4 separate regions of the Homo sapiens genome follow, and regions 2, 3 and 4 are each linked to region 1. Evidence: promoter capture Hi-C in 16 types of primary human blood cells and fetal thymus (Javierre and others, 2016). All regions are on one chromosome and are shown on one strand. Each heading gives the region's core, a stretch centred on a gene start or on the middle of the fragment in contact. The rest is flanking DNA. Distances are from core to core; before and after follow the strand shown. Region 1 holds the start of ZKSCAN2 (zinc finger with KRAB and SCAN domains 2). Region 2 overlaps HS3ST4 (heparan sulfate-glucosamine 3-sulfotransferase 4). Region 3 overlaps ARHGAP17 (Rho GTPase activating protein 17). Region 4 overlaps ARHGAP17 (Rho GTPase activating protein 17).

The links. Contacts are between HindIII fragments. The CHiCAGO score rates a contact against its expected background, and 5 or more counts as called.
Region 2: a contact is called between a fragment that was not itself captured here and the fragment with the promoter of ZKSCAN2 in region 1, in 1 of 17 cell types (M2 macrophages). The highest score is 5.5, in M2 macrophages.
Region 3: a fragment that was not itself captured here is called in contact with the fragment with the promoter of ZKSCAN2 in region 1 in 1 of 17 cell types (monocytes); the score reaches 5.0 in monocytes.
Region 4: a contact is called between a fragment that was not itself captured here and the fragment with the promoter of ZKSCAN2 in region 1, in 1 of 17 cell types (monocytes). The highest score is 5.2, in monocytes.

The regions. Positions count from the first base shown.
Region 1 is chr16:25,255,516-25,262,104 of GRCh38, forward strand. It overlaps ZKSCAN2 (zinc finger with KRAB and SCAN domains 2), which reads right to left and starts at 2,330. Exons shown (of 7, transcript NM_001012981.5): 1 at 1,214-2,330. The coding sequence starts at 1,612. ZKSCAN2-DT (ZKSCAN2 divergent transcript) reads left to right here and starts at 2,062. Exons shown (of 1, transcript NR_170220.1): 1 at 2,062-5,551. RefSeq lists enhancers at 1,696-2,256, 2,672-2,991, 3,112-3,191 and silencers at 1,942-2,181, 2,262-2,461. The HindIII fragment of the contact is 3,031 bases long and covers 1,427-4,457 here.
Region 2 is chr16:25,703,634-25,710,222 of GRCh38, forward strand. The region is part of intron 1 of HS3ST4 (heparan sulfate-glucosamine 3-sulfotransferase 4); the gene reads left to right. Among named protein-coding and RNA genes, the nearest start is that of HS3ST4, 15 kb to the left of the region's middle. The HindIII fragment of the contact is 3,999 bases long and covers 1,620-5,618 here.
Region 3 is chr16:24,981,433-24,988,021 of GRCh38, forward strand. All of the region lies in intron 1 of ARHGAP17 (Rho GTPase activating protein 17), which reads right to left. Among named protein-coding and RNA genes, the nearest start is that of ARHGAP17, 31 kb to the right of the region's middle. The HindIII fragment of the contact is 9,234 bases long and covers 1-6,589 here.
Region 4 is chr16:24,998,409-25,004,997 of GRCh38, forward strand. The region is part of intron 1 of ARHGAP17 (Rho GTPase activating protein 17); the gene reads right to left. Among named protein-coding and RNA genes, the nearest start is that of ARHGAP17, 14 kb to the right of the region's middle. The HindIII fragment of the contact is 2,735 bases long and covers 1,424-4,158 here.

The DNA.
Region 1 (6,589 bases), core at 1,080-3,579:
CCAGTGGAGTCTCTGAGAGCGCTGGGCTGAGAGTACTGTCCAGCAGTCTGGGTGTAAGGTAACAGAACAGTGTTCTTTTTTCTGAGACAGAGTTTCACTTTTGTTGCCCAGGCTGGAGTGCAATGGCACGATCTTGGCTCACTGCAACCTCCACCTCCCAGGTTCAAGCGATTCTCCTCTCTCAGCCTCCCAAGTAGCTGGGATTACAGGCATGCACCAACACAACCGGCTAATTTTATATTTTTTTAGTAGAGATGGGGTTTCATTATGTTGGTCAGGCTGGTCTCGAATTCCTGACCTCAGGTGATCAACATGCCTCGGCCTCCCAAAGTGCTGGGATTACAGATGTGAGCCACCGCGCCTGGCCAGAATAATATTTAATACTAAACAGAGAAGGAAATCTGTCAGGAGTGAAAGAGCCTCCTTGTTGCTAGAATAGATATTATTTGACTCTATATCTGTTACGTTCGCAAAGAAGTTACCAGGACATGAATATATACAGTAGTGAAATGAAAACTTACAAAATTAATATCCACATCTATCTGTCTATCCCTGACCAATACAGCAACCTGCTGATAGATCTCTACACAATGCAAGTCTGATGCAAGGTGAAACCGCAAATCTTGCAAATGCTGCAGGATTTCACGAGGTTCATGAAAGTGAGGTTGAAGAACAACTAGAAGAGCATGCAAGCCACTGAGAAATGAAGATGTGGCAGTTAGACTGGAGGAGAGTGACAGAAATGAAGGCATGAGAGCACTTCAGAAGACACTGAGTGCAACAGTAAAACGCTTGGAGACGGCTCTGGGATAACGGATGAAGTCTTTTTTTTTTTTTTTTAAAGGGGGAACAGAATAGCCTTTTTTGATCAAAATGCGTAAGTGAACCTCTGTGACGCAAAACCATATTGTTCTCTTATATTGTTTTGTTGCAAACATTATGCCAAAGATGACGATAAATGCTTAGGTGAATAATGTCTGGTTTCCATTGTAAGATAATATTTCAATCAAAGCTTTTATTTTTCTATTTCATGTGAAATTCTGATCCCCTTTTAAGTGGATTCACTTAAAGTGAAAAGACCCCCTTATAGGGTCTTTTATTAGTACCATTTATCTTTCTCTGAAGAGCACGTCTTTCTGCAATACATCCCTGCCCACATGCCTTTCCCATTCCCTTTTTTCTAAGTACAAAAATTTGGAAAATCCTCTCTCACCTGCTGTCTTAGTCTTCCAGTCTCTTTCTCCAAATGCACTACCAGGGCCACCGCTTCCTCTCCACTTTGCGGACACTGCTTCTGTGCCCAAGCCTGAATCTTCTCGGGTAAAATGGTGAGAAACTGCTCAATCACCAGCAGCTCAAGTATTTGCTCCTTGGAACGCATTTCTGGCTTCAGCCACCGGCAGCAAAGTTCCCAGAGTTTACTGAAAGCTTCATGGGGTCCAGTCACATCCTCATAACAGAATTGCCTGAAGCATTTGCGGAAGGTCTCAGAGCTATCCGATCCTTCCAGAATGGGCTCTGATGCCCACTCAGGGTCCTTTTCCACCTTCATTATTAGGCATCCCTCAACCTCCAGGGGCGCGTCGATCTGAGAGTCGAGGGCGACAGCCATGCTGCAGCCCAGGGGTCAACTTCACGTCTAGCTCAAGGTGGGGACCCAAAGAAGACTCCAAGCGCTCCCTGCTTAATGTTCCTGGGAGTGTGATAAGGTACGGAGGTAAAAACGGCCAGGTCGGCAGGAACAGGGTATTCCAGGCTGATTAATCAAATCTATGCCAGGCCCTTGAAAAGGTGAACGTATACTCTAAGATGCAAAAGCCTGGCCTCTTCTCCAAACAAGATGTGACCGCGCAATGTGGTTTTCCAGAGTGCATCCCTCTTAGTGCAAAGTCGGAAACCGGGAGGCTGGACGACTGGGAGAAAAATGAAGCAGGCTGAGGAAAGGCTGGGCGGAGGCGGACAGCCGGGCCGGGAGGGGGTGTGTCCGCTACTCCCGGGTCGGGCGCGGAGAGGCGAGTCCCCGAGTGGGTGGGGCCGGATGTGCAGGCCCCGCCCGGCGCCAGGTTCCGGGCTCGGGTCACCGCAGCACGTCCAGGCCGCCGCGGGTGCCGCTGGGGCCGCCGGATTCCGAGAGCGGCGCCGGGCTCTTTCGGGCCCACGACGGCCCCGACCGTCCTGAGGAAACCGCTGCCGCCGAGGAAAGGCCGCAAAAACTGTTCCGCCCGGAAGGGAGAAGAGCTGCGGGGCGAAGCCAGGGCTCGCAGGGGGCAGCGGCAGGCTGCTCGCGTTCGGCCTCGTCCACTCGGCCCGCGGAGAGCGCGGGGGGCGCTGGGAACCGCAGTCACGCATGCGCCGCCTGCCACCGAGCGCCGCGGGGCCCGCGCGAGGCGTCCTGGCGGGCGAGGGGCTGGGGGAGGGGGGGGGGGCCGTGCGGTGGACTCTCGCGAGAGCGCGCGGCGCGGTGACTCGTCGCTGAGGGACTTTAAGATTGTAGAGGGGCGCGGAGGGTCCTCCCCGGGGCGGAGGGACACAGAGGGATTCTAGGGAACCTGCCGTCGCGAGTCCCGCTTCAGGCGGAGAATCTAGGCGGCGGCGGGGCCTCCCTGAGGCGGAGGAGTCGGCACCGGGGCCTGGCTGCCGGGGAAGGAGAGCACGGGAGCGGGGACTCCTGTGTCTGGCGGAGGGACACGGCGTTCCGGTGGAGGGATCTGTTCCTTGTACCTGGTCCAGGGTTGCGGTCGGGGATGGAGCGGTTACCCCGACCCTGCGGGACCTTCTTCCTCTGGCGGAGGTGCACGGCGCGGCGTGGTGTTTTTCTGGCGGAAGTATCTGTGCGTGGCCCCAGGCCCTTCCCGGCGCGGTCTCATCTGGGGCCACTTGTTGGCCCTCGCGTTGGGGAGGTTCATGTGGTGCATCCTGATGAGAAGGGGGGTCACAGGGGTCTCGGGGCCAGGGTTCAGCCAGCCAGGCCCCAGCTTGCTCTCTTCTGGTGCTGCCCCTGTCCCTGAATTCATAGACCCGGCTTTCCCTCTCTTGAGCACCTACTATGTGCCAGGCTGCGCTTTGCGCATGTAGCAGAGGCAACAGTGTCACCTGGGAAGCTGGTTTCCCCCAAAGGAACTCTTGTCTGTCCGTTGTTGCAGAGCCAGCGCATGAGACCAAGTGTGAGTATCAGGCAGTGCAGCCTTCATTCAGTGGCCATGGAATTGGAGAAGTGGGAGGGTAGCTCGCAAATCAAGCTCTCAGCTCTTGGAAACTGAGAAGTTACAGGTAATAGGGAGTGTTGACGAAAAGTAAAACCGTGCAAAATATTTGAAGAGATTTATTGTGAGCCAAATACGAGTAACCACAGCCTGTGATACAGCCCTCTCGAGGCCCTGAGAACATGTGCCCAAGGTGGTCGGGGTGCAGCTTGGTTTTATGTTTTAGGTTGGCATGAGACATCAGTCAAATACATTAAATACATTGGTTTGGTCCAGGAAGGCGGGACAACGCAAAGGGGTGGGGGTGGGGGCTTCCAGGCTATAGGTAAATTTAAATATTTTCTAGTTGACAATTGGTTGAGTTTGTCTGAAGACCTGGGATTGATAGAAAGGAAGTGTTCAGGTTAAGATAAAAGATAGTGGAGACTAAGGTTCTTTTGAAGTCTTATGGTGGCTGCTCTTAGAGATAATAGATGACAAATGTTTCCTATTCAGATCTTCAAAAGGTGTTAGACTTTTAGTTAATCCGTTTAGGATTGGGAGGGCCTGGAAGAAAAACATCTAGCTATGTTAATAGATGTTCTTTACAGATGCACATTTTACCCCACAAAGGATAGCTTTTGGGGGAAAATGCTGTCCTTTATGGAAGAAATTGCAAAATAGGGCAAGGAAACATGTTTTGGGGTAAAATATTTTGACTTTCTTTTTGTCACGTAATGTTATGCCAGAGTCAGAATGGAAAGTAAGTCATCATATATAGGATTAAATAAAACCCATCTGATGAGAATTTATGGTTTGTAGGTCATGACTCCCCAGATCCCTTAGATAGGAATTTGGGCAGGATTAAAAAAATCAAGAGTTTAGGCTGGTCGTGGTGGCTCACGCCTATAATCCCAGCATTTTGGGAGGCCAAGGCAGGTGGATCGCTTGAGGTCAGAAGTTTAAGACCAGCCTGGCCAACATGGCGAAACCCCGTCTCTACTAAAAATACAAAAATTAGCTGGGCATGGTGGCACACGCCTGTGATTCTAGCTGATTGGGAGGCTGAGGCATGAGACTCAACTTGAACCCGGGAGGCGGAGGTTGCAATGAGCTGAGATTGTGCCACTGCACTCCAGCTTGGTTGACAAAGTGAGACTCTGTGTCAAAAACAAAACAAAACAGAAAAAAAAAACAAAAGAATCAGAGCTTAGTCGTCAGGTGTCCTTAATGAAGGGGCTGGGCATTAAGAGCAAGGCGAGGAGGCAGAAGGAAAGCTTGAGCCCAGGAATTGGAGACCAGCTTGGGCAACATGGTAAGACCCTGTCTCTAAAAAAAATAAAAATTAAGAACAAGAGGAGGAATATTCATGTTTTTTCTTGGGAAGGGAGGTAGATTTTCCTGGAATCAAGGAGCTGCCCCTTTTTTTGTCCTTTTTTTGGTCTCTTCGGGTCATCACGGTGATTGTCAACTGTCATGGCAACCAGTGGGAATGTCATTTAGTACTGAAGTTGGATTAGAATGAAGCTAGAGGTTCTTCAGAGGTCGAGTAAGCTAAGAAGGAACCTATGACCACAGACAACCTGTTTTCTAAAAATAAGCAGAGTTAAATCTGAGTAGGAATTTAGCTATGTCATGGAGGCATTGCATTGGGTAACAAAAGCCAGGTAGGCGTCCAGCTAAGTCCCCTAGGCCCTGCAACGGGTAACAGCAGTACTGACTCTATGTTAGAGAAAAGCTTGCTTGCTTGAGTATAATTATTGTTTTGCCTGAGTTTGTAAACTATTCACTAAAAACAGCCACAGAAAAAAACAGGACCTTCTTCAACAGATAAAACACACAGACCCGCAGCTTTGGGAACAGGCTGATGGCCCCTGCACAGTCTAGTCACAAGGCATTGACCAAGAAAGTAATGACTAACTGCCCATCTGAGACTGCGCATGATTCACAAGAATGTTTCTTTGTTTTGTTTTTTGAGACAGTCTTGGTCTGTCTCCCAGGCTGGAGTGCAGTGATGTTGGTTCGCTGTAGCCTCTGCCTCCTGAGTAGCTGGGACTACAGGCGTGTGCCACCGCACCTGGCTAATTTTTGTATTTTTAGTAGAGATGATGTTTGACTATGTTGGCCAGGATGGTCTCGAACTCCTGACCTCAAGTGATCCACCTGCCTCGGCCTCCCAAATTGCTGGGGTTACAAGTATGAGCCACCGCTCCTGGCCCACAAGAATGTTTTGATCATTATTTCTCCTAATTTTCCTTAAAATCCCTGGATCTAGAGGCACAACTGAGAAAGGTGGTCTTTGAATGCTAGTGCACTGCCTTTTGCAGGTTGCTGGTTTCTCGAATAAAGCTAACTTTGCTTTCACCAAAGCTTGTCTTTTGAGTTTTTGGCTTTCAGGCGACGAGTGGCCTGGACACCAGTTCGGCTACATGTATGTCAGTGGGCAAAACAAAAATCCTTATTCTGGGAGGTAGATAGCTTATTAGAAAACACAACCTAATCACTTGTTTCCCAAATGTTAAAAATTGAGCCAATTTTAGCCCCAGAAGCTTAGGGTACCATGTACATAACAGGCATTACCTGAGGGTGGGGCAGAGAGAATCAGTGGGGTACCTCGTATATGCCAGGGGTTGTATCAGCATCCTTACACAGCTCATTTTTCTTTTTAAATAATACTTATTGAGGACCTATTTAATGCCAGATATGGTGGTAGGTAGGGAGCAAAAGCAGGATTCCCCTCCCATTATTGAGTTTTCAGTCTGGTGGGAGAGGCAGGAATTAAATAAGTAATCCACAAACTCAAGTACAATTCTAAGGGAGATGGGTGCCACCAAGAAGAGACATGGTGCTGAGAACCTATGTCTGTCAGAGGGATTTGATCTATTTGGGAGGTCTGGAAAGGTTTTTTTGAAGAAGCAGTGCTAGGGGTGAGATCCAAAGGAGAAGAGCTAATTAGGCAAAGCCTAGTCCTCACAAAAATCCTATAAACCAGATATGATTACCTTCATTTTAGAGTTTAGGGCATTGAGACTTGAGCAAGGTGATGTCACTGCCCAAGGTTACATCAGATTAAATGGCAACCCAGGATTCAGATTCAAATAAGAGTAGGGTTCTTTATATTCTCCTTGGGCTATTTGGTGGTTTTAGGAGAGGCAAGTATCACAAACAGCTTGGGGACATGAGGGAGCAGGAATCACAAACTTGAAAGCCTGCAGAGCTCAGGCAGATAGCATAGAGTGAAGTAGGGCAGAGTGTAAGACAATAGGGGATGGTGGGGAGTGTGGTGAGCTGAAGGCCACATTTCCTGTCTAAAGGAAGCAGCCACTAGTTCCAGTCTCTTGTTGCCATGCAGGATTACAGACCAAGCCCTGCTGGATCTTCTGATGATATTATTTTGAGGGCTTGGC
Region 2 (6,589 bases), core at 2,369-4,868, 450 kb after region 1:
TTTAGTTCCAGTGTGCAGATGGACAGGCTGCTGCAGGAGTCTTGCCCTCACAGTAAACAGTGGAAGTGGTTTTCTTTCTGTTCAGGGACTATGCCAAGCTCATTCCCCCTTTAGGGCCATTTTATTCTCTTTTCCCTCCTCCTGGAATATTCTGTCCCTAGATCCCTAAACTACTGGTATCTCCTTATCTTTCCTTTAGGTGTTGGCTGAAATTTCAGCTCCTCTAAAAGGCCTTTCCTGACTACCTAATTTAAATAACTTCTTCCACTTCTGAGCTTGTTATGCTGTTTTATTTTCTCCAGCACATCTATTGCTCTCCAAAGTTATCCTCATTACTTATCTCCCCCTCACTAGAAGGTAAACTGCATAGGACCAGAAATCGATCTTGTCCATTTTGTTTCAAGCCAGAGCCCAGAACAGTGCCTGGCAGATAGTAGATGCTCAATGCATGGTGATTTATTAATCACCAATGATAAATCAGTGAATTCATGAACAAAAAGAGGACCTTGTATGTACGATACTCCAGGCTTCTGGAAAGAAAGAACCCTCACATTTCTTGGGAAGTGTAGCTAAGAATTGTTCTCAGCTTTTTCACATACTCTTTTTTTGCAAGCCTATTTTGGGTGCAGAAAGAGAAACCCACTCAAATAAGCTGTGTGGGCTAGCTAGTCTCCCCCAAAGGTTCCTATAGCACACAACATTATTTCATTTATTCCTCACAGTGGCCTCATGAAGTAGATGTTTTCTTACAGATAGAGAGATTGAGACTTTGGAAGGGCAAGTGACATTCCTGAGCTCCCATAGCAGGATGTCCTGAGCTGGATGTCTTATTTATTTATTTTTAGAGATGGTGTCTCGCTCTGTTGCCCAGCCTGGAGTACAGTGGCATGATCATAGCTCACAGCAGCTTTGAACTCCTGGGCTCAAGTGATCTCCTGCCTCTAGTAGCTGGACTATATAGGTGCTCCACTGTGCCTGGCTAATTTTTAAAAAAATTGCTTTGGGAGGCCGAGGCAGGTGGATCACCTGAGGTCAGGAGTTCGAGACCAGCCTGGCCAACATGGTGAAACCCCGTCTCTACTAAAAACACAAAAAATTAGCCAAGCGTGGTGACAGGCACCTGTAATCCCAGCTACTGGGGAGGCTGAGGCAGGAGAATCGCTTGAACCCAGAAGGCAGAGGTTGCAGTGAGCTGAGATCATGCCATCACACTCCAGCCTGGGCAACAAGAGCAAAACTCCATCTCAAAAAAAAAAAAAAAAATTGTAGAGAAGACATCTTGCTCTGTTGGTTGCCCAGGCTAGTCTCAAACTCCTGCACTCAAGTAATCCTACAGCTGAGGCTTGCCGAGGTGCTGGGATTACCTGTGAGCCACCGCACCCGGCCCTGGGTGCCTTCCTACTATTCCTGGCCTCTGTTGCTGTAGCACAGTTGTAGGAGATGAGCACGGATTATTACTGATAGATCATTATGCTCCATGAGTAGTTGGATTGTCTTTCTCTGGATGTATTATCAAAATTACCTAATTGCCATATAATAATCAGGCCATGACACGGGGGCCCCCTGTTTGACTTTTGTTACCTCCTAGAGGTGTCCGCACACCATTCCCTCCAGGTTAAAGCTTCTGCAGAGGGTTAGAGATTTGGGAGCCCCTGGAGATGAGGAAATATTTGAGTCAAACTACGTGGGCACCTCTGTCATAGGACAGTTTGATTGCTTGGAGCTCTGTGGTATTTTGAAAAGGAAGCTGGGCTGGCTGCGGTGGCTCACGCCTGTAATCCCAGCACTTTGGGAGGCCGAGGCAGGCAGACCACAAGGTCAGGAGGTCGAGACCACCCTGGCTAACACGGTGAAACCCCATCTCTACTAAAAATACAAAAAATTAGCTAGGCGTGGTGGCACGCACCTGTAGTCCCAGCTACTCAGGAGGTTGAAGTAGGAAAATTGCTTGAACCCAGAGGCGGAGGTTGCAGTGAGCTGAGATCGCACCACTACACTCCAGCCTGGTGATGAAGCCAGTTTCCATCCCAAAAAAAAATAAAAATAAAAATAATTGAATAAAAGAAAGAAAAGGAAGCTGAAGGTGGAATCAGAAATTAAGGATTTGAGTCTGAGTTCTGCACCTTGTGGGACTTGTTTTGTGTGCATAGATTGGTGTGTAGAGCCTTTGTTTTCTCATCTCTAAAATGGGAATAACAACCTCTACTAACTCCACAGTGATTTTGCAAGGGTAGAATAGTGACTGTGTGTTGGGATCGACTTAGTCTACATATGTTAGTTGTTATTAATCCATGCACGTTTTCATGAATTCCCCCAGGTTATTGGTTTCCTGGAATGTTGCAGTCCAGGGAGTACCTGAAATACAGGACAAGCACTCTTATAAAGTTAGATTAAGAGGTTTAATTTACAGAAACTATTTTATAGCATGGATATCAAACGTTCTCAGGGCAGACTGCGTAAAGATCTGGGGAATTCCTGGACAATCTCAGACTGTGTAACTGTTTCACCGGATTCATCATTGTTACGTCATTTTTAAAATACCGAAACAACATAAAAACCTACGGAGCTACGGGTCACACTTGCTTCTTAAAACTGCCCTGCAGTTGTTGAGCTTTGGGAGTGACCAGAAGATTCTGTCATTTGGTTCTCAATTGACCTATCCTCTCTTTTCAGGCTGTGTTTCCCAGGTTGGTGTATTAACTTTCCACCTTCTAGTTGTCTGCCTAACATGCTTTCTTTTTAAATCTTTTTTAATATATATATTTTTTAATTTTACTTTAAGTTCTGGGATACATGTGCAGAACATGTGCCATGGTGGTTTGCTGCACCTATCAACCCGTCATCTAGGTTTTAAGCCCGGCATGCATTAGGTATTTGTCCTAATGCTCTCCGTCCCCTAGCTCCCCACCCCCCGACAGGCCCTGGTGTGTGATGTTCCCCTCCCTGTGTCCATGTGTTCTCACTGTTCGGCTCCCACTTATGAATGAGAACGTGCGGTGGCCTAACCTGCTTTCTAACCCTCTGTGCTAGACAGAATAATGACCTCCCTGAAATGCCTGCATCCTAATCCCTGGAACCTGCAAATATGTTAGATTAGCTGGCAAAGGGGAATTAGGTTGCAGATGGAATGAAGATTATGAACCAACTGACTTTAAATGGGAGATTGTCCTGAATTATTTGGTTGGAGCCAATGTAATTCCAAGGAATTGTATACAGAAGGCTTCTCTTATCCGCAGTTTCACTTTCTGAGGTTTCAGTTACCCATGGTTAACTGTGCTCTGAAAATATTAATGGGAAATTTCAGAAATAAATGTTCATAGGTTTTAAGTTGCTCATCATTCTGAGTAGTGTGGTGACATCTTGCGCTGTCCTGCTCTGTGCCACCCAGGATGTGAATTATCCCTTTGTCCAGCATGTCCACCCTGTAGACTCTACCCATCCTTGAGTCACTCAGCAGCTGTCTTGGTTATCAGATTGACTGTCGTGGTATCTCAGTGCTTATGTGTGAGTAACCTTTACTTTACTTAATGATGGCCCCAGAGTGCAAGAGTAGTGATGCTGGTAATTCAGATATGCCCAAAGAGAACCCATGAAGTGCTTCTTTTAAGTGAAAAGGCAAAACTTTTCAATTTAGAAAGGGTAAGAATAGTAAAATAAAATATTTTGAGAGAGAGACCATAATCACGTAACTTTTATTATAATATATTGTTATAATTCTATCTTATTATGAGTTGTTAATCTCTTACTGTACCTAATTTATAAATTTAACTTTATCATAGCTATGTATGTATAGGAAATAACATAATATCTATAGGGTTTTGTATTATTGATGGTTTTAGGAAGTCACTGGGGGTCTTGGAGCATATCCTCTGTAGATGAGGGGGCACTATTGTAAATGGAAGAGGGAGGCAGAGAGAGAACCAGAAGGTAGTATGAGAAGGACTCAATCACTGTTGCTGGCTTTGGCAATAGAGGAAGAGGCTACAAGCCAATGTGGGCAGCTTCTAGAAACTGGAGAAAAGGCAAGGATCTGACCCCTATTCACTGCTTTAGCCACATTCAGTTGCCTTATTTTCTTTGTTCCTCTGCTTGAGCTTTGCTAGCCTCCTTGCTGTACCTGAGAAGTCAAACATGGCCCTGCCCCAGGGCCTTTGCACTTGCTGCTTCCACCACTTACAATGTTTCTTTGCATTAGATAATTGCATGTCTTATGTCCTCCCTTCATTCGGGTCTCTGCTCAATCATCTTATCCTCAGGGTGGCTTTTTCTTGTACCACCTGGACTCACCTGCTAGTGGTAAGAGCATCACTTATTGGAAAATGCTGGTGAACAGTGTCATCATTGACATATGCCTGTATTCCATAGTTACTCCACACCCACCCAGGTTTCTGGTATCCTAATTTCCTGTTTTTTAATTCCCCTATTCTGGAGAGAGGATCTAGTCATTGATCCGGTACCACAAAATGACCTTAATGTTGCTGGGGTCAAAATTTAAAAGATGTTTATGTAACACTCAGCTATCCCTGCTATTTAAGTATGCTGCCACCAGGTGGTGATTGTGGGACACAGGTTGGGTCCAAAGTCAGGCATTTCCTGAGATACAAAACGAGTGGCTCCTTGCTCCTTCCAATCTGGATTAACCCTGCATATTTTGTTCTTATATCATAAAATAAGAGGCTTTATAAAATATTCACTTTCAGTAAACAATAAGCAAGTATCAAAACAGATGTGTAAAGCCGTGTTTAAAACATACTGGAATACAGTTGTGTATTTGTTTTTTCTCTTCCCCATTCTGAACCAATTTCTTCATTTGTGTTCAGATATAGAAAAAATCTTGGCAGGTGGAATTTTTCTTTCCTTCTTAGCATTCTTATGACTATCTAAATATGGACAAAAATGAAAATGCCATGTTGCCATAAGTATATCTTAAAGCAATTAATATTAAGAAATATTATTATAACACATATGCCATATATTAAATTGCTACATTACCCATTTAGAATTTGAAAATTGCATGTTGATTTCAACCAAGAAACCTCTTGACCTCAATGAGAACCATGGATTTCCTCATTTAGAACAAAACAATGAGTTTCTTCTGTATTTATGGGTTCTCACTAGCCTGTGTATCTGTGTCAAAAGTTCCTTCCTTCTTTTAGTTTACCTTCAACTCTTGGCCTTGGGACTTTTCAATTTTCCTGGGATTCCCTTTTCCCATCCTTCCATTTTTCATCCACTAGGAGGAAGAAATTGCCCCAAATCACAATATGTTAGAACATCTTTAAGGATAATCATTTTCAGTGGTGGTTCAAAACTTCATTTCAGCTCCAGAACTCTATTGGCTAGAATTCCTCTGGTTATAACACAGAAATCCAAGGTAAAATCTGAACCGAGCATAAATCAAAAAGGAATTTAATGGCTCATGTATCTGAGAAGTCCCAGGAATTGGGGATATCTTTTTTTTTTTTTTGGCTTAATTAGTGTTTAAACAATGTCACCAGATCTCTGCTTCTGGATTCTCTGTCGCCGCTCAGATGGTTGACTGAGTTCTCAAAACTTCTCTCCTTGTGGCTGTAAAGTGGGTGCTAGCCTGATTCTCTTTCCCCAAGTATAGGTGGAGAAGCTTGTCATCTTTGTCCTGGAAGTCTTTGCTGAAGACTCGATGTAGCTCATTAGTTCTTAGGGGTCGTGCACACATCCATCAAGCGGTTTCTGTTGCCAGCGGGGTGTGAGGCTTGAGGCACTGCCTCCCTGGAGCCTAGGGAGGAGTTAGTTTCCCTGGAGGCCCCTGGATCTGGTTATCAAAGACAGGAAATGAATGCTGCTGCCAAAACAACAGATGTCTGTTTCTAGACACTCCTCTGTTCAAATGCAATCTTTCCCCGAAGTACAACCGAATAAAACAGACACAGTGAGGTTCCACCGGCTTGCATGGAGATAGAGGACCTAGGTTCTGTTTTGTCTTTCTACCAAGGTGGACACAAACAGAGCAGCTCAAAATCTCCCTGTCTAGGTCTCTGCTTGAAGATTCTGCATCTTTTCTTTAACCGAGAGGGGAAGAATGGAAGGAAGAGAAGAAGAGAGAGAGGGAGGCAATGCAGGAAAAAAAATGTATCCAGTCTCTAAACCTAAGATGTGTTCAATCCTGAAAAAAGTATCTATGGAATCTGCCCCTCAGAAATCACTAATTATTTATTTAGAATATTTTCTATTTTCATCCCTTCCTTAGCAACCCCTAGCAGCTGCCTAGAAAATTTTAAAGGAATTGTGTATCTTACAAGAGAATTCTTCAAATAGCAAGTGAAATAGTTTCATCACATTAAGTCTTCCTGCCCGGATTCGCTTCAAGTGGAGAGGGAGAAATGATTTGGCATTTGATCAGTCTTAATTTAACAACTAGATAGCCTAGAATTTCTAGAAAATCTTTGATTTTATGCCATTCTTTTCATTTAAAGTGAGGCTCACAATATAGAATTAAGTGTGATTTAATTTTTTCTGCTTCTGTAAGACGTTTTAGGAAAATAAATCAGTGTTCTGGAGAAGAAAAATTCCCTTGTCCAATCTAGTGTTTTGACTTAAAAATATATGTATA
Region 3 (6,589 bases), core at 1,373-3,872, 270 kb before region 1:
TATTGAAAGGATGGGGGGAGCAGAAGCAGAGGGAAAGGGCCCTAAACCCTCATTTATCAGAACAGAAAGTCAACAGACAGTAACTAATTTGATAACCCAAACGATAGTTTACACATATTACTTATAATTATGAATATGAATAAATGTCACAATAAACTGTTAATATTTCAAAGTAGTTGCTTCTGGAGTTGGGAAATCTCAGAGAGTAGGGAGTGAACCCACCGTATTTTGTGGTAAGTCTTTTACTATATTATTTGACTTTTTAAACTACATGAATCACAGTTTTGAGGTTTTTTAAAAATAGCATGTTACTTACACTTTTAAGTAGCATGCTTGATTGATATGGCCAGGGGTGAAGTGTGCCTAACTTAAAGAATTGGTCCAATGTCAAGCTCTACAAATGCACAACAGAAAACATACCTCAGAGTATCTAAAATGTAAAGAAAATCAGTGTATTTCCAGCCATTTTTTTCAAATTAACTGGACCCTCTGCTTTAGAGGTACTTTACATGAAAAGGTCTGGAGGCTGAAAACTATATTGAATATATTATATGAAAATGTTAATGTACTGTTTAAAAAGAAATTTCCCCTTTGTTTCCTGTGTTTGTGGAGGCTATATATATATTACATTAATAAAATCAATTTTAGATTTGCAGGCTTAGATTTTTTTTTTTTAAATCAATTTTAGAGGTTGGGGGTGGTGGCTCACGCCTATAATCCCAGCACTTTGGGAAGCCAAGGTGGGTGGATCACTTGAGGTCAGAAGTTCAAGACCAGCCTGGTCAACATGGCAAAACCTCATCTCTACTAAAAATACAAAAATTAGCCAGATGTGGTGCCACACACCTGTAGTCCCAGCTACCTGGGAGGTTGAGGCACGAGAATTGCTTGAACCTGGGAGGCGGAGGTTGCAGTGAGCCAAGATCGTGCCACTGCACTCCAGACTAGGCAACAGAGCAAGACTCTGTCTCAAAAAAACAAAAAAAAAATGTGTAGAAAAAAATCCAAACCCAACTAGAGATTAAAAGTGATCTATAATTGGGAAGAATTACTTTTAAGTGACAAATCATGACTATGGAGTATAATACACAAACTGGAATGGCTCCCTCACACAAAGATTCTTTGCTGGCCTGTGGACTCTCCATCTTAATTTTCAGGCCTTGGTACTGTCTCCATCTATTCCAATAATGTGGTCCAAATGACCTGATCTCCCTCATCACTGTGACTGGTCCAAGCCTTGGTGCTTCCTATCGTGAACTGTTTTGCAGTGTTCACCTTTACCAGAGATATGGAAAGTCCAGCAATTATTCCACTATCGGCCAAGGTGCCCATTCAATAGGCCATTCAATAGGCCATGTACGTAGGCCACAGAAATGTGCTGGTTTTTTCTGAGAAGTGTTATCTTTGGTTGAGTTTTTGTAATTTATTAAAGCAAGGCAGGGGGCAAGAGACTGAATTCGTCAAGACATCTATAGACAAAAAAAAAACAGTAGACAAAGTGATCCAATCATAAAAAATAATACTTGATAAATCATATATATATATATATATATATATATATATATTTTTTTTTTTTTTTTTTTTTTTTTTGAGACAGGGTCTCGTTCTGTCACCCAGGCTGGAGTGCAGTGCCACAATCTCAGATCACTGCAATCTCTGCTTCTTGGGCTCTAGTGATACTCCCACCTCAGCCTACCAGGTAGCTGAGACTACAGGCATACACCACCACGCTCAGCTAATTTTTCTATTTTTAGTAGAGACAGGGTTTCACCATGTTGGCCAGGCTGGTCTCAAATTCCTGAGCTCAAGCGATCTGGCTGCCTTGGTCTCCCAGAGTGCTGGGATTATAGGCATGAGCCACCGTACGCGGCCAGATTTTTTTTTTTTTAAGACAAGGTTTTGCTCTACCTCCCATGCTGAGTGCAGTGGCCTGATCACAGCTCACAGCAGCCTTGAACTCCTAGGTTCAAGCTATCCTCCCACCTCAGCCTTCCAAGTAGCTGGGACGAGAGATGCGCACCATCATGCCCAGGTAATTTTTAAAATTTTTTTTATAGAGATGGATTCTCACTACATTGCCCAGGCTGGTCTCAAACTCCTGAGCTCAAGCCATCCTCCCGCCTCCAACTCCCAAAGTGCTAGGCGTGAGCCACTGCGCCCAGCCTAGATTGTTTTGAATCAGACATTTTGCTCCATGTTCCTAAACTTTTTGTATATGGGTTTTTTCTGCTTTGTCAGAGCCTTCTTTGTGTCCAACGTTCTGGGCTTGAAAACACACTTGAATGTTTCCTGTCTGCAACTGGAAAAACAATACGAATCAGGAAGGAACTTCCCACTCGCCATTTTACTCTGGGGTTTGTTTTTTCCTATGAAGCTATTCTGCAATTTTACTAGTCACTCAAGCAAGGCTGATACCAGGCAGGATCTTTAATTTACTTTTTGGTAAAGCACAGATTTTCTCCTCGTAATTCTCAAAGCAGCAGTGCTGCCCAGGCCTTCATAGTGCCACTTTCCCTTGACCTGGTGTGGCAATGTCCAACCCTGCAGTGTGGCTAATAGGATGTTTCACTGAGCTCACTTGCCAGGCAAGGAGAAAACAGAAATGTTTTCAATCTGGAGTAGTTCACTGTACCAAAAAGACAGAAGATGCTCAGACCAGGTGAGAGTCAAAGGAAAATTTCCAATTGGTCTGATATTTTCCATCTCTAATCATGGATTTCTGGTAGTTTCCTTCATAAAACATGTACTATGGGAGCCAGGGACTCCCAAACCATGGACACGAATGCTCAAGTCCCCGCGATCAATGCAGGCTGTGGTCTTCCAAACAATGAGCACTACCGTCCTCCTCCCTGCTAGACAGCAGGTTCCATGAGGGCAGAGAGAGAGCTCTAAAGTCATCACTCCTCCCCAGCGGCAAGCTCAGCACCTTCCTGCCACTTAAATACATACTGAGGCCGGGCGCAGTGGCTCACGCCTGTAATCCCAGCAGTTTGGGAAGCCAAGGCAGGCGGATCACGAGGTCAGGAGATCGAGACCACGGTGAAACCCCGTCTCTACTAAAAATACAAAAAAAAAATTAGCCAGGCAGTGGCAGGCACCTGTAGTCCCAGCTACTCGGGAGGCTGAGGCAGGAGAATGGTGTGATCCCGGGAGGCGGAGTTTGCAGTGAGCTGAGATTGAAATTGCGCCACTGCACTCCAGCCTGGGCGACAGAGCAAGACTCCGTCTCAAAAAAAAAAAAGAAATACACACTGAATGAATGAATGGATGTCTATCACATCTTTGGGAAAAAGGACATTCACAATGTCAAACAAAATCCAATAAAACTAGGTTGAAAAGCAGCCATAGGTGTATAGAACTGCCTTCCACAGTAAAATCCATAATGACTAAAATTGAAATGTGATATTACCTTTCAAGGTTAATCTTTTTATAAAATGGGAAAAAAAACCACAGTTGAAAATAAAAAAAAAATGTCTGTAGGGGGAGGCAAAATCCAGTTTTAAAAATTTTATGTTAAAAGAGGAGTGAAAGCCATTCCTCCAATCCCATATCCCAAAGGGTACTGTTACGAATTTGTTATATATCCTTCCCAATTTGTTTTCTAAATTTAAACTAGTGCTTCTCAACTGGAGGCAACTGTGTCCCCAGAGGACATTTGGCAATGTCTGGGGACATTTGTGGTTGTCATGATGGGAGATGCTACTGGTCTCTGTAGGCTAGAGGCCAGGATGCTACTGACTATCCTAAATGCAACCCCACACACACACACACACACTAAATAATATAAAGAATTATGAACAAGGAATGATCCAGCCCTGGATTTGTTTCCTATTGCTGCTGTAACAAATCACCACAAACTCAGTGGCTTGAACAACACAAGTATATTATATCACACTTCTTGAGTTCAGCACTTCCAACCAGGTCTCCCTGGACTACGATCAAGGTGGCAGCAGGGCTGAATGCCTTCCTGGACATGCAAGGGGAGCATCTGCTTCCTCGCCCTTTCCAGCTTCTTGAGTCTACCGCATTCCTTGGCCTCCTCCTGCACTGTCAAAGCCAGTATGGTTCACTCTGGGCCTCTCTGCCACAGTCACCTCTTCCTCTGACTCTGCGACCTCCCTCTTCCACTGCTAAGGACCTCTGTGATTACACTGGGCCCACCTGGCTAGTCCAGGCTAATCTCCCTTTCCACTGATTAGAAATTTTAATCCCATCTCCAAACTTAGTCCCCCTCTGCCATGTAATCTAAGACATTCAGAGATTCTGGAGATGGGGATCTGGACATGTTTCGGGAGGGCAGAGCATTATTCTGCCTACTTCAGGTCCAAATGTCAACAGTGCCAAGGCTGAGAAGTGCTGATTTCAAAGGACACACATACACACACATACGTACACACACATACATGCACACCCATACACACACACACAGATGCACACAGGTAGATAGAGACACGAGGGGCATTTTTACACGTCAGAATACAGATGTACAACTCCACCACCTCCCTTTTTATGCCTGTACATTAACCTATTCTGTGGATATACCATGTTCTACTTAACTGCACGAAAGCAAGGCAGCACCACCAAACCCTCCAGCCTCATATTCAATCTAATTGAACTGTGGACTGAAGACAGTTGAAGACCGTCAAACCTCCACATCACAAACGGTTCCTCCAAGGCTGTAGGGATCTACTTGAGCCTTCATAATAGCCAACAGTAGCAGCCATATTTGCTGGGTGCTTTCTATGCCCCAGACACTGGGCTGGCACTTACATCTACTCTAATTCTCACATCAACCCTATTGGGTAGGAACCACTATTTCCCCCATTTTACCTATAAGGAAAGTGAGGTCTTGAAAGGTAACTTGCCTAGGACCCCAGCACTAATAAGTGGGATTGTGGGATTCAAACCCAGAGGGCCTGACTAGCAAGGCCTACACTTAGTTTATCTAAACCAGGGGTCAGCAAACTATACCCGCAGGCTCAATCTAGCTCACCGCCCATTTTTTATGTTCAGAAAGCTCAGAAGAATGGTTATTTTAAAATGATTGGAAAAAAACAAAATAATAATATTTGGTAACACATGAAAATTTTATGAAATTCACATTTCAGTGTATTACAGAAGTTTCACTGGAACACAGCCAGGCTCATGCATTTGTGTGCTATCTATGGCTGCTTTTGAGCTTCAACAGCAGAACTGAGTTGTTGCGAAAGACATCACCGTATGACCTGCAGAGCTCAAAATATTTGTTATCCAGCCATTTACAGAAAATGCTGGCCAACCCCAGGTCTCTATTAGTAACTCTTGCAGGATGTGGTGCAAACCTTGATAGCTAACTTTTTAGAATCACTTTGAGGATGGGTGAGGCTGGGCTGGAGGTGTATTTTCTCTTCCTCGACATTCTGCCTCATAGGCAAGCAGCAGCTGCCAAAATGAACAGGGGTGGCTGCCTCTGATAATTCAGTCCAAATGCGGAGGCACAGCCCAGTGCTGGTGACACTGGTGACAGGAAGAAATCAGAAGTTATGTCCCTCCTGCACCTACGCACCTCCATCCACTCACCTCCTCAAAAACACTGAAGTATTTTAATCACTGTTTGCTTTCTGGTCTCTACTGATAAACATATTTCGGGACAAGACCTAAATAAACACAGTTCTCTACCCAAGAGTTCAGCAACAATAAACATTTCAGGCTTGCAGACCATACTGTCTCTATGTAATGACTCAGCTTGCCACTGCAGCACAAAAGCTGCCACAGACATTGTATAAATGAACGGACCTGGCTGTGCCCCAATAAACCTTTATTTATGGACACTGAAATGTGAATTTTGCCTAATTATCGTACGTCATGAACTACTGTTCCTCTTTTAATGTTTTCAAGTATTTAAAAATGCCAAAACCATTCTGAGCCTGCAGCAGCCGCATTTAGCCCACAGACCAGAGTTTGCTGACCCCTGATCTATGTACAAGTGAAGTCCATTTTCCCATGAAACTTCAATCCTTTTTAATCACTTCCCAAATCCAAATTCTTCTTACTCAGAAGGGGGATTTCTACGTTTTCCCAACTTGCATTTCAGAGGTTGAGAGACGCTGGCTTTTCAAGACTTTTGCCAAATTGCTCCTTTTCAATCCTTTCAGCCATTCTGGGGCCTTGAGAGCAGGGGCTCATCTTTCTACCACCAAGAGCACCCCCAACCCAAGGATGGCAAATATGTGGCCGAGGCGCCAACACTAGCATCAAACATCAATGGCTCCCACTGCCTCTGGGCTCACAGGGCTGTTGGTTTTTGGTTTACAATTTCACATGAGAGATCACTGTTCTGCTGGCTTTTACACTTGCACACTGACTGATACGTCAATTAAAATGAAAAAATGAAGCATGGAGAGAATTTTTAATGAGCTCATTTTCAATGCTAGTTACCAGGAAATATCTGACGCATTTTTGAGAAATAAGACAGACTGTGACTAATCTACCAAGGATCTGAATATTGTATGTAGGGTAACAACATAAACATTACTGCATGCAACATGATTTGTATTCACAGTGAAATTACAGAGCCCACCCAGGGCTAGGCAGTGGATTTCATTCTGCT
Region 4 (6,589 bases), core at 1,541-4,040, 260 kb before region 1:
AGGGTGGGGTCCAGGCAGGTGGGTGGTGACGGCAACCATGACCACGGGTCAACCTGGGCCTCAGACACTGGGGAAAGGTGGCCATGTCCAGTTTTCTTAGGAAATTAGGAGGCAGGTCATCCAAGGAGAGAGGGTGGGTGTCTGGGGTAGGGTGAAGTAGGTTTCAGAAAAGTGAAAGTCTGGCAAAAGCACTCAGGAAAACGGGACAGAAAACTAAGCCAAGCGCTGGACGGCAGCATTCATTCAGCCCAGCTGAGCTTGGAGGCCATGAAATGCTGGCAGCCCCACACTGCACGACTGCAGGGTCTTTCTGGGCCACGCCCCGAATCCCAGGTATGGAAGTGAAGGACCCAAAAAGAGGAATGAATCAGGCTATTATTCCGCAGAACAGGTGAAAGAAAAAGGCCAGGTAGACAGAGCCTTGGAAGTCAGTCACCCACATGCCTGACCCCATCAGAGAAGAAAGGGGACCAAGCCAGGGCGGGAGGGACTGTGTGGGAAAGAGGAGGCTGAAAGGAGGAGAGACCGCGGGCAGAGGTGGACAAGGGACCAAGGTGAAGACCTTTGAGGTGCTTCTTGAACCACAGTGGCGAATGTCTTTCTGGACAAGAGTGCCAGTGCCCACCGCCATCACAGGACACAGCCCCATCCACACTCCCGGGACAGCAACATCTCATTGTCCCAAACTCTGCCAATTTCATCAGTGAAAAGTGGAGCCTGGAAGCTTTGCATTTCTTCAATGACTTCGAATTTTTTAAAGTGGTCTCACAGATTTCCTGGTCATCGGTATTTCATCTGAGAAGTTTCTGTCTGTGATATCTGCTCATTAGAGCGGAGTTCTTAAAATTACTAGAGAGCTTTATACATTCAGTATATTCACCTCTGTAGTGGTTGCTCTCAGTTTTTTCCAATTAGTCATCGTTTTAAATTTAACTTTGATATAATAAAACAGACAGAAGTGTAGTTATTATGTGGTTAAATCTACAGGTGTTTTATTTATTTATTTATTTATTTATTTATTTTTTAGAGATGGGGTTTCACTCTGTCACCCAGGCTGGACTGCAGGGGCACAATCATGACTCACTGCAGCTCCGGCTCCTGGGCTCTAAGGATTCTTCTATCTCAGCCTCCTGAAATAGCTGGGACTACAGGGGTGTGCCACCTCACCCAGCTAATTTTTCCAAAATTCCTTTTACAGACACGGGCCTCACTATGTTAATCAGGCTGGGCTCAAACTCCTGGCCTCAAATGACCCTCCTGCCTCGCCTCCCTAACAACTGGGATACAGGTGGGAGTCGCATGTCCCACCTACAGGCTATCTTTTATTGTTCTTTCTCCACATTTTTATGCCAAAGCATGCAGTACTTTCCACAATAAGCTATATTTTCTTGTATTTATTTTGTGGTTTTATTTTTTACATGAAAGCTTTAACCCATTTGGAATGTATTTTGGCATAGAGCAGTGAAGTGAAGGCTAACCTGGCTATTTTCCCCAGTGCTGACCTGCTGTGTCACACTGTATGTCCTCACTGTCTCATGACGCCTCCCTAGCACACACCACCTTCTTAAACACAGCAGAGCTTGCTCCTGGTGGTATCAGGAGCCGTTTCTCACGTATAGGAACACAGCAGAGTGGCTGATTGGACCAAGGTCACAGACACAGCGAGTAAACAGTACAGACAGGATCTCAAGCCCTCAGACTCAAGTCCAATACACTTTTTACTACAATGCAACTGCCCCAAAGCAGTTTTACGTTGATTAAGCCCTTATCTAAAAGTTTTGAAAACTGAATTAACTAATCGCCAAGAAAGCCAATTCTTGAGGGAAAGTAATTTGATGATCATCAAATCCCATGACAGAACACATTTCTGCTTTGTGGGGGAAAGGCTCCCATCTAGAAAAAGCATGTATTTTGGACACAGGCAGAACAACACACACAGACGCACGAGGTGCACATCTGCAAATAACATTTCTCTAGAGAGCAGCTCCCAGCATGGGAACTGTAACTAAGCATTGCTTGGACAACTGGCAGGCTTTCTTGAGCTGCCGACCATGTGGACGGCTTTTCTTGAATCTTGGGGTTTTTGTCCATGCGCTTGAGGATGTCTGTGAAGTCCATAAGATTATAGGCAAATCTGTGTGTGGATGATTTTTTCTGGCAACGGGGGGGTTATTAAAACCTCTACCTAAATCTACAGGCAGCAAGGTTTCCATTCCTAAAGACTGCCCTGAGATTCAGAGGCTACAATTCAGTCTACTGCCTTGTGACCTGCTAACCACCTCTTCTTTAGAAGTGACATTAGCATACTGCCACATACGCTCCATTAAAACTCCTCTTACCATTTCTCAACTTTCTCCTCCAATTTGTTCCTAAATCTAAAGTGCATTGCAATTGTTTTCTCCATATAGTTGGACTACTACAAATTCAGCATTCTGCATTTAAGATCACCTGCCAACCTCATGACACAAAACAGACACAGAATAAAGCTCAAATAGCAGACACACTAAAAGTTGTGTGGTTCGAAAATGAGGAGAACGTTGCTTGCAAACTTCCATTGGGAACAATTCATATTACAACACTTGTATTTTAGCAGGATTTAAATAGTCCTTATCATGTTCCTGAAATGTCCAATAAAGGTAGAATCATATGCCCTTTACACAATATTCCTATAAACATTTATACAGCTACACACTATTTTGGAGTCTAACCAATTAAATAAGGGATGAAAAAGAAATCATTGAACTAAATAGCAAAAGCAGAAATAGAAGCACAACACTGATAATATTATGTACCTAAAATAACAAAAATGATCAGTTGCATAGTTTAGTAAATAGGCACTATTCTCAATTTAAAAAACAAAAAAAAATACCTGGGAAGCATATAAAAGATTGTACACACAAAGTCATGTGCAATGCTCATCTTGTAGATATCAATTCTCAAAGTTTAGTTCACAGATTTATTAGGCCATAAAAACCTGGGTTTTATTTATTTTTGAACCTTTAGAGCCTAGCCCACAACAGGGACCCAATAAACATCATTTGAATAAATGAGTCCCAACTCAATCAAAATCCTAAATAATTTTTTCTAGAAACTAGAGAAGATGAGATGCCAAAACTCGCCTTTATACAAAAGTAAGAGAGATACTGAAAAAAGAATATTTATTATTATTTTTTAATGAGACAGGGTCTCTTGCTGGAGTGCAGTGGCAGGACCACAGCTCACTGCAGCCTTGAACTCCTGGCCTCAAGCGATCCTCCGGCCTCAGCTTTCCAAAGTGCTGGGATTACAGGCGTGAGCCACAAACCCAGCCTGAAAAAGAGTATTTGTAAGAGACCAGCTCTACCCAATTTAAAACATATTACAGATCAACAGTTATTAAACCATACTGATGCAGGCTAGGTGCAGTGGCTCATGCCTGCAATCCCAGCACTTTGGGAGACCAAGGTAGGAGGATCACCTGAGGTCAGGAGTTCAAGACCAATCTGACCAAAGCGAAACCCTGTCTCTACTAAAAATACAAAAATTAGCCGGGCATGGTGGTGGGCACCTATAATCCCAGCTACTGGGGAGGCTGAGGCAGGAGAATTGCTTAAACCTGGGAGACAGAGGTTGCAGTGAACCAAGATCGCACCACTGCACTCCAGCCTGGGTGACAGAGCGAGACTCCATCTAAAAAAAAAAAAAATGTTGATGCAAACATATACACACACCCAAAGCCATAAATCAATGGAATAGAATAGAAAGCCCAATAAAAGGTCAAAGAAAATATCACAATTATATGTTTCTAAAAAGGAATCATTGTAAAACAATGAAAAAGTGAAGAATTACTGTTCCCTATGTAAATAACATCTACATCAACCCTAACCTGAAGCTCCTCACCTCTTCCCTTGCTCTTTTCTTCAGCCCAAACATGGTGTTCAATGTTCTTCCCAGTCACCGCCCAAGGCTGCTGTCTTAGCCCTGCCGTCATCACCTCTCTGAGCCTACTGCAGTAGCTTCCTATCTGGGTTCCCTTTCCCTTCCTCCCTGGTCCTGACTCCATCGGCTGCCAGCTGACTTCCCACAGCACCAACTTTCTCAACCTTTTGCCGAAAAGAGTTCCCCAAGTTCTACCACAGTAGCCCTCAAACCATCATTCCCCCCTAAAACTGGAACAGAAGCTTTTCTAACGATGGACTTCCACAGATGACGACAGAAGCCAATCAACATCGCCTGGCTCTCAAAAGTTGGTGCTCCAGGCCATGGATGGCCTGTATTTTAGTCCTGCTATGTTGGGGTTGTTTGAGGATTATTATGAACCCCAGCAAGTACAAAAATGCAAAAGCAATGGGAGTATTAAACTGGTTCTGGCTGGGCGCGATGGCTCACGCCTGTAATCCCAGCACTCTGGGAGGCCAAGGCAGGTGGATCACCTGAGGTCAGGAGTTTGAGACCAGCCTGACCAATATGGTAAAACTCCCTCTCTACTAAAAATACAAAAATTAGCCAGGTGTGGTGGTGGGCAACTGTAATCCCAGCTACTCGGGAGGCTGAAGCAGGAGAATCGCTTGAACCCAGGAGACGGAGGTTGCAGTGAGCCGAGATTATGCCACTGCACTCCAGCCTGGGGAACAGAGCGAGACTCCGTCTCAAAAAAAAAAAAAAAAAAAAAAGAGGCTCTAACAGGAGATATACAAGTAAAATGGAAATTAGAGAAAATAATAAGTTACATTGTGAGAAATGATACTTGATATTCAATGTATAACAAAATTGTCTATTTGGGGCAAAGGTCTCCATCAGCTTATACAGGGCAAATAAAACAAGAGTATGCTAGCTTTAAAGCTTTTTTTTTTTTTTTTTTTTTTGAGACAGGGTCTCACTCTGTTGCCCAGGCTGGATTGCAGTGGCAGGATCTCAGCTCATTGCAACCTCTGCTTCCCAGGTTCAAGCGATTCTCGTGCCTCAGCCTCCCAAGTAGCTGGGATTACAGGTGTGCACCACAATGCCTGGCTAATTTTGGCATTTTTAGTAGAAACAGGATTTCGCCGTGTTGGCCTGGCATCAAATCTGCCTGCCTCAGCCTCCCAAAGTGCTGGGAGTATAGCCATGAGCCACCATGCCTGGCCTTAAAGCTTTTTAAAACTTGGAAGAACCAGCTGGGTGCGGTGGCTCACACCTGTAATCCCAGCACTTTGGGAGGCCGAGGAGGGCTGATTGCTTGAGGCCAGGAGTTCCAGATCAGCCTGGCCAACATGGTGAAACCCTGTCTCTACTAAAAATACAAAAATTAGCCGGGAGTGGTAGTGCACACCTGTAATCCCAGCTACTCAGGAGGCTGAGGCAGGAGAATCGCTTGAACCTTGGAGCAGAGGTTGCAGTGAGCTGAGACTGTGCTATTGCACTCCACCCTGGGTGACAGAGCAAGAATCCATCTCAAAAAAAAAAAAAGCTTTGAAGAACCAACTTACACCTTCTATTGGATGGAAATGCAACCAGGGGCTGTGAATTTAAATACTACAAATACTTAACAAATGGATCAGAAAATAGCAATCACTACCCAAGTGATTTGAAAATAGAAGAGCTGGAGAGAGTTGCTCCCCTGCTAAGAATCACATAATGGTTGCCTTTTTCCCAATTTACAAACAAAAAAAAAATATTAAGTTAAAGGATAAACTCTTCAAGTGTTAGGTTTCCCCTAGGACTATCTCTACCCTTGGAATTCTCTATCACCTGCCAGTTATTAAGATCACTCAAGGCCAGGCACAGTGGCTCACGTCTGTAATCCCACAACTTTGGGAGGCCAAGATGGGAGAGTTGTTTGAGGCCAGGAGTTGGAGACCAGCCTGGGCAACATAGCAAGACTCTGCCTCCATGAAAAAATTTGTTTAAAAATGATTGCTCACGTTACATGCCCAGCGGAGTCCTCACTGAACCCCCAGGCACATCTCAGAGACTCCCCTGCTTTGTGCCTGTGCCCACACTCCCTCCATCCAAGCACTCACTGTATCTGGTGAAGTAGAAACACTTCGGTGTATTTCCCCAAAGTACCGCTGGCCATGGTTTCAAATGGTCACTCCAGCCCAGGCATGTGAAAGTATCCAATGACCACGTGATATCCAAGCTGCTTGATTTATACATATTCACACTGACAGGTAACAGCTGATGGGTGCTTTTAATAATTTCTGTACATTTATTTAAGATTTATATTCATTTGAGCACCTGTTTACTTGGTCTGTGATTTCTAATTTAAACTCTTTAAGAAGTATAAATTTGGCCAAACCATGTGGAAGAACACTGAGTAACTACAGAAGAAATGCTAATGAAACATTAAAGGAGAGATCAAATTGACTACTAAACCAAAAGGTATCTCTGATAAGGAAGACGTCCAAAAAGAAGAGCTGTGGGAAAGGAGAGGAAGAGAGAAACATCTTGGGATAATCAAAAGGAAGTAGCCAATGCAAATAATCAATAAGCTGTAATTAACACAGAGGAAACACAGTCTCACAAGATGCATGGCTGAAATGAACTGAATATTGTTTGTTTTTGAGATGGAGTCTCACTCTGTTGCCCAGGCTGGAGTGCAGTGGTGCGATCTTGGCTCACTGCAACC